Linked DNA regions of Homo sapiens: region 1 is linked to region 2. The links are contacts of gene promoters, found by promoter capture Hi-C in human tissues and cell types (Jung and others, 2019). All regions are on one chromosome and are shown on one strand. The core of a region is centred on a gene start or on the middle of the fragment in contact, and the rest is flanking DNA. Distances in the headings are between cores, read along the strand shown. Region 1 overlaps GLTP (glycolipid transfer protein). Region 2 holds the start of FAM222A (family with sequence similarity 222 member A).

Region 1 (5,669 bases), core at 71-2,570, 160 kb after region 2:
TCCATGCCTGCCTCTTCAAACAGCCATCTCTTACAACATGGGATGTTCCTGACATTGAGTAACAAGGTGACCAAATTGCCCTGCCCTGGCCTACCCTCTCGTTTCATCTCAAGAACAATGTTCAGGGAAAAAAAAGGACTCTTAAAGATGCACAGCTTGCTTCACTTTCAGCCTGTGTGATTCAGGACAGAACACACCTAACCCAATTCATAAACAGTCATTTCCAGAAAGGAAGAACAGGATGCCCGTGTCGTGATGCTACAAGCCTGGTGTGGGGAGGTTCTATTGCAAATTCAATGGTTTTTTTCATAGCTGGATAATAAAGTTCAGTTGTTAAACACATGAGGCAGATTAACTTTATAGGTCTTGGGTTACAAGGATCATAATGGAAGACACTCAAATTACAGCTGATGGAGATGAATCATTTATTAATCTGGGGGTGCGGGTTGTCATGGCTCTGCTTACTATAAGGCCTATTTTTAAGGATACGAGCCTTGAGATTACCTACATTTCTAAAACAGGTTCCTGCTCTGAGTCTACTACCTAAAGAGGAAAGAATGTTTACAAAACAATTCAAAATACTTCTTTAAAAACTTCACCCCCGGGCCAGGCACAGTGGCTTACTCCTGTAATCCCAGCACTTTGGGAGGCCAAGGCGGGTGGATCACTTGAGGCCAGGAGTTCAAAATTAGCCTGGCCAACATAGTGTGAACCCGTTTCTACTAAAAATACAAAAATGAGTCGGGCATGGTGGTGCACGTCTGTAATCCAAGTTTCTCAGGAGGCTGAGGCAGGAGAATCACTTGAACCCAGGATGGGGAGGTTGCAGTGAGCCAAGATTGATTGCGCCACTGCAATCCAGCCTGGGCGACAGAGTAAGGCTCTACCTCAAAAAAAAAAAAAAAAAGAAAGAAAGAAAGAAAGAAAGAGAAAGAAAAAAAGAAAAACTTCACCCTCATGACATGCCAACTATTTGTCCTATAATTGCTCCCGGTTCAGGAAAAAACAGTCTTGAACTAAGAATGATGCAGTTGGGAAAATTCTTTTTTTTTTTTTTTTTTGAGACGGAGTCTCACTCTGTCGCCAGGCTGGAGTGCAGTGGCCTGATCTCGGCTCACTGCAATCTCCAACTTCCAGGTTCAAGCGATTCCCCAGCCTCAGCCTCCCGAGTATCTGAGACTATAGGCAAGCACCACCACACCCAGCTAATTTTTTTTTTTTTGTTTTTTTGTATTTTAGTAGAGACAGGGTTTCACCATGTTGGCCAGGATGGTCTTGATCTCCTGACCTTGTGATCCGCCTGCCTCGGCCTCCCAAAGTGCTGGGATTACAGGTGTGAGCCACCACACTCAACTGGGAAAACTATTATCATTATTTTGAGACTCTCACTCTGTTGCCCAGGCTGGAGTGCAGTGGCGCGATCTCGGCTCACTGCAACCTCCACCTCCCAGGTTCGCACCATTCTCCTGCCTCAGCCTCCTGAGTAGCTTGTGCCACCATGCCTGGCTAATTTTTGTATTTTTAAAAGAGACAAGGTTTCACCATATCTCGAACTTCTGACCTCAAGAGATCTGCCTGCCTGGGCCTCCCAAAGTGCTGGGGTTACAGGCATGAGCCACCGCACTCGGCAAGTTTCCTCATTTTTAAAATGAGGCTCATAATGGACCCTTCTTCAAAGGGTTGCTGTGAGGCTTAAATAAAGTTGTATAAATAAAGGCCTAAGCACAGTTTCTGGTACCTAGTAAGTGCTCAGTGAAAAAGAAGGTATTAGGCTGGGCACCATGGCTCAGGCCTGTAATCCCAGCACTTTGGGAGGCTGTAGCGGACAAATCACCTGAGGTCAGGAGTTCAAGACCAGCCTGGCCAACATGGTGAAACCCCATCTCTACTAAAAATACAAAAATTAACTGGGTGTGGTGGTGTGTGCCTATAATTCCAGCTACTTGGGAGGCTGAGGTAAGATAATTGCTTGAACCTAGGGGGAGGGTGGAGGTTGCAGTGAGCCGAGATCATGCCACTGCACTCCAGCCTTGGTGACAGAGCAAGACTCTGTCTCAAAAATAAAATAAAATAAAATAAAATAAAATAAAAAGAAGGTATTATCATTTATGCTTATTATTATAAATTATATCATCATCACCTTTCCCAACAGACAAAGCTTTTCTTTAGAGAGGAAATCCAGAAAACAATTATTCCAATGATTAAGAAATCAAAGCAGAAGGAGAGGAAGGAAGGGAGGAGGGAGAAAAAGAATTATTGACTCATTGATTGATTGTTAGGGGTAAAATTAGCAGAAATCTCCCCATCATAAAATAATGACTTCAAATGTATTCCAGACCATTAAGACAGAGATCTCAGAAGGGAGTGAAGTAAGGAACTTGGAGGAACAGCAAGGCAGAAAATGAATCATTTCTGAACACAGGGGAAGTGTGAGTCGACTGCCTAACTGCCAGGGTGGAAAGCAGAGGCTTCTAGAAGACCCTGGAGAGGGCTGATCCACTGCAATGACTTTGAAAAGCTCAGATACAGTTAACACTCTAGCAAGAACCACAAAAAAGGCCTCCATATAAGTACCACTGTAAGTACGTAATAAAAGGAGTTAACATTCACTCTGGCAGGTTTTTACTGAAACAATGAAACCTAAGACTAGGACCCAACATTTCCATTCTTTTTTTTTTTTTTTTTTTTTTCTGAGACGGACTCTCGCTCTGTCCCAGGCTGGAGTAGTGGCGTGATCTCGACTCACTGTAACCTCCGCCTCCTGGGTCAAGCGATTCTCCTGCCTCAGCCTTCAGAGTAGCTGGGATTACAGGATTGCGCCACCACACCTGGCCAATTTTTTTTTGTATTTTTAGTAGAGACAGGGTTTTACCATGTTGGCCAGGCTGGTCTCAAACTCCTGACCTCGTGATCTACCCGCTTCGGCCCCCCAAAGTGTTGGGATTACAGGCATGAGCCACTGCGCCCGGCCCCAATATTTCCATTCTAAGAAGCTCATTGAAATAATCACATTGTCATGCCAGCCGGGAACTTCCTATCATTTCCCCTCCTCCCCTACAAGGGACATTTCTGCCCTAGAGACGACTTCCAACGTCTTCCTGTTTCCTGATGTGGTGTTGGTCTCCCCTGTTACAGGGCTAGACCTGCTGTAAAGTCCTGTGGACCACTTCCTACCTTCATGACCTGATCAAATCGCTTCACCTCCCTGCACATTGGTTTCCTCTTCTGGAAAATGGTGCCAAATTCCTCCTAAGTTCATCATGAGGATTAGAAATGAGTTACTGCCTAATTCAATGGCATATCCTGGGAGCCACTCAAAATAGAGATGATGCTAGTTATGATCACGGTCATACGTTATATTTTATAAAGCCCTTTGTCATGAATTCCTCCCATTCCTTTTCACGTGGATATAGGCTGGGCGCCCATGCTGCAGAAGCCCATTGGTGGGTCCTGGGAGGGCCTGACTTCTGCCCCAAGGGATTCACAGTGGAGGGCTGTCCCTCCAAGCATCCCTGTGCAGCAGAGGAGGGGCAAGATGAGTTAGCAAGCAACTGTAGTCTCTCCCCTCCTACTCAATCCTCGTCCTTCTGGCAGCAGAGAGGCCAAACCTCAGGCTCTGACCTCAAGGGCCAGATTTTTCTGAACACAAAGATCTAATCACCACCATCCCAGGACCGGGTGGGCGGGTGCCACTGGTCTGTATGTACTCTGGCCTTTGGACATTATAAAGGAGGCTGCTGGAGCAATTGTCAGACTTAAGCAGCCATGCAGCTGGCTCTGTGCCCTGGCAGTCATTCACCAAGTCAGGCATTGATTTTGGTGCTCCTGCCTGGACTCACCACATCTTTCCAAAGGTAGGATGGATGGCCCTAGACCTTTAGGAAGTGGGCCTTTTGCCACACAGCTGTTGGGAAACGGAGCTGCCAAAAAGAAGCCACCTCGGGGCCTCTCAAGCTCAGGCTGGCTCAGATGGATGCCAGTCTCCGTGTTTCCTTCCACTCATCTGTCCACGGTGTTCAGGGCATGGATGTCAGAGGAAGAGAATCAGACTCAAAGTGACTTCTCCCCTCTGAGCCTCAAAAACAGCCGACTCATGGGCTGTTACACACATGGACAGAAAAACACAATAGGGCCCTCCATAGCCCTCCTTCCAGATTGTTCTCTGGCCAGGTGGGATCAAGAGTGGGACCCACCAGCACGGCACCAGCACACAGCAGGTGTTCCTGAAGGCTAAAAAAGCCTCACTTACTACTTGCAAATGCATCTCCGAAGTCTGCCAGCAGTTTCAAAATTGTACAGCCATTGCAGAAAGTGTCTCTCTGGCTTCTTCCTCCAACAAGACATTATTTGTTTCATCTTCTCAGGGTCCCTCCCAGGCACACAATCTAAATCACATTCCACTAGAATCCAGCTCTCAACAGTCAATCAAAATGATAACTCACCTGCTATATTAGGAGGGTTAATACAGTTTCTTGTCTTTCTTGGGATATTCTTCACCAACCTTGTCCAACCCGCAGACCGCAGGCTGCATGTGGCCCAGGACCGCTTTGAATGTGGCCCAATACAAATTCATAAACTTTCTTAAAACATTATGAGATTTGAGTTTTGTTTTGTTTTGTTTTGGTTTTTAGCTCCTCAGCTATCATTAGCGTTAGTGTATTTCATGTGTGGCCCAAGACAATTCTTCCAGTGTGGCCCTGGGAATCCAAAAAATTGTACACCCCTGTTCTATACAAAACCAAAAATAAACAGGTATTAGCATTAACTTTAAATTTAAAAAAAAAAAAGCAGAAAATATTGTAAGGCTGTGGTAGGTGGTCCCAAATCTCAGAGGATGCTTGTTGCAGTGGGGGAGCTTCTAACTCACAGATCAAGGGGTACAGGTGGGGCTGGTTCCCAGTTAGCCTGATGTCCCAGATGAAGGAAAAGCCAGAGCTGAGGCTGGGCGCGGTAGCTCACGCCTGTAATCCCAGCACTTTGGGAGGCTGACGTGGGTGGATCATGAGGTCAGGAGTTCAAGACCAGCCTAGCCAGCATGGTGAAACCCTGTCTCTAGTGAAAATACAAAAAATTAGCCGGGCATGGTGGTGCACATCTGTAATCCCAGCTACTGGGGAGGCTGAGCCAGGAGAATCACTTGAACCCAGGACGCAGAGGTTGCAGTGAGCCGAGATCGTGCCACTGCACTCCAGCCTGGGCAATAGAGCAAGACTCTGTCTCAAAAAAAAAAAAAAAAAAAAAAAGCAAGAGTTGAGCGCCGTGGCACACGCCTATAATCCCAACTACTTATGAGGCTGAGGCAGGAGGATCACTTGAGCCCAGGAGCTGGAGGCTGCAGTGAGCTGTGATCACCCCACTGCATGCCAGTCTGGGCGATGAAGCAAGACCTTGTCTCTTAAACAAAACACACACACACACACACACACAACCAGCCAACTTGTTTGGGGCTTTTCCCACAAGACGATTTCAACACTCCAGTCATTTTCTAATTTACATTCAAATAAACAGGAGTTATGGACCAGCTTGGCGGGCTGTTTATGAGTTACACACCTCAGAGCAAACCTGCATGTCTGGTCTGTGGCACCCACACCACTTGTCATGTGGACAAGTCACCATGGTGCCAGCAGAACCACTGGAATTCCTCAAGTACCCAACCAGGCTGGCTCCAC
Region 2 (5,835 bases), core at 534-3,033:
CGCCCTGTCCTCAGCTGAAGTCTGGTCTCCCCACCTGTCCACACGCTGGGTCCACCCATCCAGTCGCCCCGGCCGCCCTCCCTGACGTCCCCGCAGCCCTGGCTGCTGGCCCGAGCGGGAAGCAGCTGGAGGCATAACACATTTCCAGGTAAATCCCCACCCCCACCTTCAGCCTGGGGAGGGAAGGGGAGGAGATGGGGGCGGCCGCGGAGAAATAGAGCGGAGCTGCTGGGAACAGCGCGCCGAGCAGCCGCTTAGAGGCCTGAAACAGGGCCAGCTCCTGTCCTAGATAAGGCGGCGGGTGACCCACTTGGGCCGGCCCTGGAGGTCCGCCGCGGGCGCCTCTCCCGGCGGGGTGGGTTGGCTCCTGGAAGTAGGCTAGGGCCCGTCTATAATCAGCCCGTCCGCTGGATACGCTCCCCAGGGTCTCCAAAGCCCTCCAGCCCGGGTGAGTACAGAGGGCATTTATTGAGCACTTAATGTGTGTTTTGAGTCCTTTACATGCAAGAATTCATTTTGCCCTCAAATCTACGCTGTAAGGTAGGAATTATGATGCCCCCCATTTCACAGACAAGAAACTGAGGCGCAGACCCGTGAAGGTAAATGGCCAAGACCAACAACCAGCAAGGGCAGGGCTGCAATCCCACCCAGTTTCGGTGGGACTCCAGGTATCACACGGGCATAGCCTGAGGGGTGGGGGGTCTGACTGCTGCTCTGCATTTCTGTGGGGATCTTTGTTATTATCCCGGAAAGCTGGCTTCCTACAGTGCTGTGTGATGGACACACAGCAACTGAGGGAACTGCCCCACCCAGGACTCAATTTCCCCATCTGTAAATGAGACTGCTAGACGGGCCGCCCATGGGCTGTGAGAACCCAGGAAGCTTCTTTAAAAGTAAAAGGGAAAGCACAGTATAGTTTGATAGATTCATATTTGAACCCCAGGTTGATGTGAAACTATGCCTCAGTTTCCCTATCTATTAAGTGGGGGAGTAGGCTAGTGCCTGTCTCCTGTGGGCGTGGGGTACGTCTAGAAGGTGTAGCTTGCAAATTGCTCAGCGCTGTGCTGGGTTATATAGTTAGCGCTCCACAGATCACAACTGTGATGCCAAAAACACATCGCTGCCAAAAATAAGCCTTAGGACAAAAACATCCAGGACCATGTCACTTCACATCTCCTTACCTCAGTTTCCTCTGTAAGTTGGAAGTATAATAATAGTACCTACCGTATCAGTTTTCTCATCTGTAAAATGGGGGTGATAGTAATACCCACTCACACGGTGTTGTGAGGATTAGATAAAATACTTTGCTACATAAGTGTTAGCTATAGTTGTTATTTTTAACAAATTCCTCATGAGGTTGGTTTTTGCCAAGATTAAATGAAATAATGCCGATAATGCACTTATACAGTGCCTTGTCCCAAATATGTGATCAGTAAATGACACTGGTTTTGCCACCCCTAGTGGGACTACAAAAACCAGCACGCCCTGCGCCCCCAGTCGGGGCCCCTCCACCCGGCGCCGGCGCGCAGCATGCCGGGAGTTGCAGTCCTCGCGAGGCAAGTTCCGCCTCGTCCCTGCTTGGGGGAGGAGGTTGGAGAGCCGCCCTGCCGGCCTTTGAATTTTGCCGCGAAAAGCGCGCGTGGCGGCCCCCGGCTCCGCCCCTCGCAGGACGCGGTGCCGCGTCACCCTGGTAACCGCCTCTCAGCCGCCGCTGATTGGGCTGGGCCGCGGGGGGCGGGCGGGGGACGAGACGCGGGGGCTGCTGCCGGCGCTCGCGCCTGTCAGTCGGGCCAGAGCGGAGCAGCGGGCAGGACTGCCTGGCCGGCTGCTCCGCGGAGAGGCTGCGCGCGCCGGCCGGGGGAGGCGGACAGCCGGGCCCGGCGCCTGTGGGGCGCGGCGCGCGGCACCCGGGCCTGAGACCAGGCGAGGCGCCGGCGCGCGCCAGACGGCGCGAGGCTGCGGCCCCGGGAGCCCCCGCGCGCCGCCCGGGGCCATGGGCGCGTGAGAGCCCAGCGCGCGCGGCCCCTGCTGCGGCTTGCGAGCTCGCACACCCGGTGCACAGTCCCCCGGGCCGTCCTCGTGTCCGTCCTGCGCCACTGGGATCGGCTGTTTCTCAGCGCCGAGGCCCCCGAGGCTGCATCCGAGCTTGCGTCGCCCGCTGCCGCCGCCGCCGCCGCTGCCGCCGCCGCTGTTCGCCGGCTTCCCCTCCCCCCACACCCGGGGCTCAGAGCAGGAGGAGGAGGGGCCGGTGCATTCTCGCCGCTGTTCTTTGCAACCTGCAGGGGCCGGTGTATGTCCGGCGAGGAGCCGGGGCCGCTGCGGGTGCGTGCAACCCCCGAAGGAGACAATCCCTCCACCTCGGGGCGAACCCGGGGGCTGCAAGCCGCGGGCGGGCGGGCGAGCGAGAGGAAGCAACAAAGACAGGCTGCAGCTGGGGCTGGCGAAAGGGGCCGCGGCCGCCGGGCTCCCAGCGCGGGCGGAGAGGGCGCCCTGGGAGCGGCGCGGGCCGAGCTGCAGCCTTGAGCGGGGCCCCGAGGGGAGGCGCAGCGCCGCCCGCCGGACGTGGCGATCACGGGCCCCGGCGAAGATGCGTCGCCTGAGCGCCCGCGCGGCCCCCGTCCGGGGCGGGCGTGACCCCTGCTGAACGGAGACCTCCCCTCCCCCCCGACTTCGGACGGCGCAGGCCGGCGCCAGGATAGCCCTCACCGACAGCGCCCCTTCCCACCCGGAGAGAGGCATCGACCCCCAAGGAGGGCTTCGTCAGGCAGCCTCTGCCACTCCTGCATGGCTGCGACCCGTCGAGCGGAGCGTCGTGGTAGCTGAGACCTGGTGCCCTTCGACGGCCTGGCTGATCCGGTGAGTTGTGCGGGGCGGGGTTCTGCGCTGGAGCTGGGGGCACCCCCTGGCGTCCGGGCAGCCAGGATTGGACAGAAGGGGTCCTAGGCTGTTGGGGGTCCTGAAGCAGAGATAACCCTTGTCCGCCCCTTTCCTCCCTCCAAACACAACTTGTTCAGATGGGCCAGCCGATGGGAGTGGAGGTTGGGGGGCCCATTCGGATTCCGCGGGACCCTGGGCGGGTTGGTTGCCAGAGAGGAAAGGTCACCCCACCCGTAAAGCTAACAAAGGTATTGGCTGTGTCATCCGAAAATTCCCCGGGAACTCCAGTGTCTTGGAAGGGCTGGGGGGTGGGGGGCACCCAGGATGGGAAAACGTTGAGGGTCTCCCGAGCAGCCTCTGAGATCTTCAAGGGAAATCACCTCAGAGGGGGATTTGGGGTTCCAGAAACGCAGGTGGCCACGTTTGAGAATTGTGCCCCATGGGGCTAGACCTTAGAGCCCTCGTTCAAACCACGTTCCCACAAATAACTCGCAGGGACGGTAGGTTCCCCAGTGGGGGCACGACATGACGTCAAACCTTAGCCTCTGATGTCACTGGGGTTGCCGTGGCAACACCACTTGCCTTGACCCAAGGCCGGAGGGGGCGGGGTCGTGGTAACAAGGGGCGGGGCTGGATGCCTTTGGGTAGTGGAGGGGTGAAGGCGGACTCCCCCCACCCCTACCATTGCAGTCCTCTGACCTAAATCCTTAGCGCCCCATAAGGTGGGGGAGGGAGGCAGTGCCAGCTGTCCCTGTTGATGCTCCTCCCCGCAAGGACAGGTGTTCAGAGCTTTGCCCATGTAGCCTGGCCTGTGCCTCGGGGCTCAGGCCTCCCAGACAGAGCAACTTTCTGTTTTGAAAAGAGATGCTATAGAAGAGACCTCCCTGAACCCCACCATGTACCCAGCTGGCAGGCTGAAGTTCCCAGGGTCCCCAGAGAGATGTGGGCCTCCGGCCCTCCAATAGGCTACTTCTGCTGGGGAAAATGTGGGTGCCCCTCCCCCAGCCAAGGAAGGTGCAGAGGAGCTGCTGCCTGCTGCACCCCTAGTCCAGGGGCTCCCCATGCTGTTCTACCCCAAGGTCAGGGGCCTTGGCCAACCTGGAACTCCTGATTGCCCCCTGCTCCTTCTGGTGTTTAAGAGGATTTCAACGAGCATATTGTGAGGCTGCTTAAGTGAATGGCGGGCAAGTGAGGCCCATCAGTGCCAAGGTCTGAATAAACTGTGTCTCTGTCAGGGCACCCCCAACCAACACACACCCCAGTACTGGCACGCTTCCCTGCAAAGGCCCAGAGAACCCCCAGCAAGCATCCTGCTGCTGGCTCTGGGATTCGTCTAGGTCCCTTCCAGCAATTATTGCCAGTGTCGGGTGCTGGTGAAACTGCTGTGATCACATTTCTAGGAAAAGGTTCGAAAACTGTCATTGCCTCAGCAGCGTGGGGCGGGGTAAGAGCAGAGAAAGTGTGTGTTCGGGTCATTAGGAGAAGCCAGGCCCCAGTCTATGCAGCGAGCATTTTCCCTGCTCTTCTACCAAGCTCTCTAGCTAGATTAACAGGTCAATAAATATCGGTGGAGCTGCTTTTGGGGGCTTGGCAGGGAGATGGTATTTCCAGCTGAAATGGTGTCGTTAAACACACAAGCTTCCAAGGACAGAGGAGCAACAGCAGATTGGGGGAGAGCCGGGAGAGGTGGGCAGAAGGGCTGTTTGCGCTGCCTCTCGAAGCTTCCCAGTTTAGAAACAAACTCGGAGTGCGCGCCAGAGATTCACAAACACAGGCAGTTGGAGGCCCTCTGCCGAGTATTTACACTTCCACAGCCAAGGCAGAGGGAAAGGCTGTCAGAATTGGGCAATTCCTTCTGTTCCCTTCCCTCATCTCCCTGGGCTTGGCACTCAGCGTGCCAGACGATGAGCAGGAGGGAGTGCCAGCTTTCTCAGCATCTCCCTATATGCCAGGCGTTTTACATGATCTCAGTTACTCCTTGGAGTGGCTCATACGCTGTGGCCCATTTTATAGCTAATGAAACTGAGGCTTAAACAGAGGAAGTGATGGGCTACAGGTGATCAGCCAGGCAGCTGCAGAGGTTCGGTCCTGAATTGCCCTCCTGGCTCCAGAGTCCTTGTGTCTTACCACCTCCTCCCATGGGGTTTGGGGGACACTCCTACTTATTGGACAGGGGTCCCTGCAGGCATCAGAGGCTATCAGCCATGGAGGGGGAGTCTGGCCCCACCAAGATGCTTTGTCCACACCAAAAGGCAGATTTGAATCCTCTCTTCCTATGACCTACAGGTCAGCGTTGAGTAGATTAACAACTTCCGCCCGGCCTTGTGGTCTGTCTGGTCCCCTCACCCCCAGGACTCCTTTCTCCAGCACTAGGGGAAAGAAGGTGTAGCTTGAAACTCGCTCCTTGTCACCTGCCCTTCTGGGCTTGCTTGGAGGGAGGCGGTGAAGCTGCCCCTGGCCGCCCCAGGGACCTTCTTGGGATGTAGATGGAGCAAGGGCAAACTAGTAGATGAGGTTCCTGACCCAGCCTGAGGGTCAAAAAGCCCTAGAGGAGAGGTGGCACATGAGTCATGAAGAGGACAAATAGGAATGTGCCAGACAGGAGTGAGAAGACTGTTCTGGGTGGCCGGAGTGGCCCTGGAGCAGCCAGTGATGTGTGTGGGCCCTCGTGCCTGATGGGGAAAGGGGCAGCCGTGAGTGGCTGTGTCCTGGAGCCTTAGGTGGATAGGGAAGGTTTAAGCAGGGCAGAGGATCCATTGATCTCCTTTGACAAGGACAGTAACCCTGGACATCTCTTCCCGTAAGCGTGGAAGTGGCCACCTCGGTTCTGGGGGCAGTCTCCTCTCTTAAGGTTGGCCCCACCCCCACTAATCCTTCTCACTTATCTAATTCCTGTAAGCTCGTCCATCCCCTGTCCCTTCTGAGCCTTAGGGCTGCTCTGGACTAAACTGGGACTGG

What was found. The method cuts DNA at HindIII sites, captures the fragments that hold promoters and counts their contacts. A contact is called where the count stands out against the background at its distance.
Region 1: a contact is called between a fragment that was not itself captured here and the fragment with the promoter of FAM222A in region 2, in 2 of the 25 tissues and cell types used here (IMR-90 fibroblasts and neural progenitor cells).

Annotation. Positions count from the first base shown.
Region 1 is chr12:109,868,414-109,874,082 of GRCh38, forward strand. All of the region lies in intron 1 of GLTP (glycolipid transfer protein), which reads right to left. Among named protein-coding and RNA genes, the nearest start is that of GLTP, 9.3 kb to the right of the region's middle. The HindIII fragment of the contact is 8,954 bases long and covers 1-5,669 here.
Region 2 is chr12:109,712,042-109,717,876 of GRCh38, forward strand. It overlaps FAM222A (family with sequence similarity 222 member A), which reads left to right and starts at 1,784. Exons shown (of 3, transcript NM_032829.3): 1 at 1,784-2,856. RefSeq lists an enhancer at 246-809 and silencers at 1,515-1,844, 1,875-1,924. The HindIII fragment of the contact is 9,746 bases long and covers 1-5,835 here.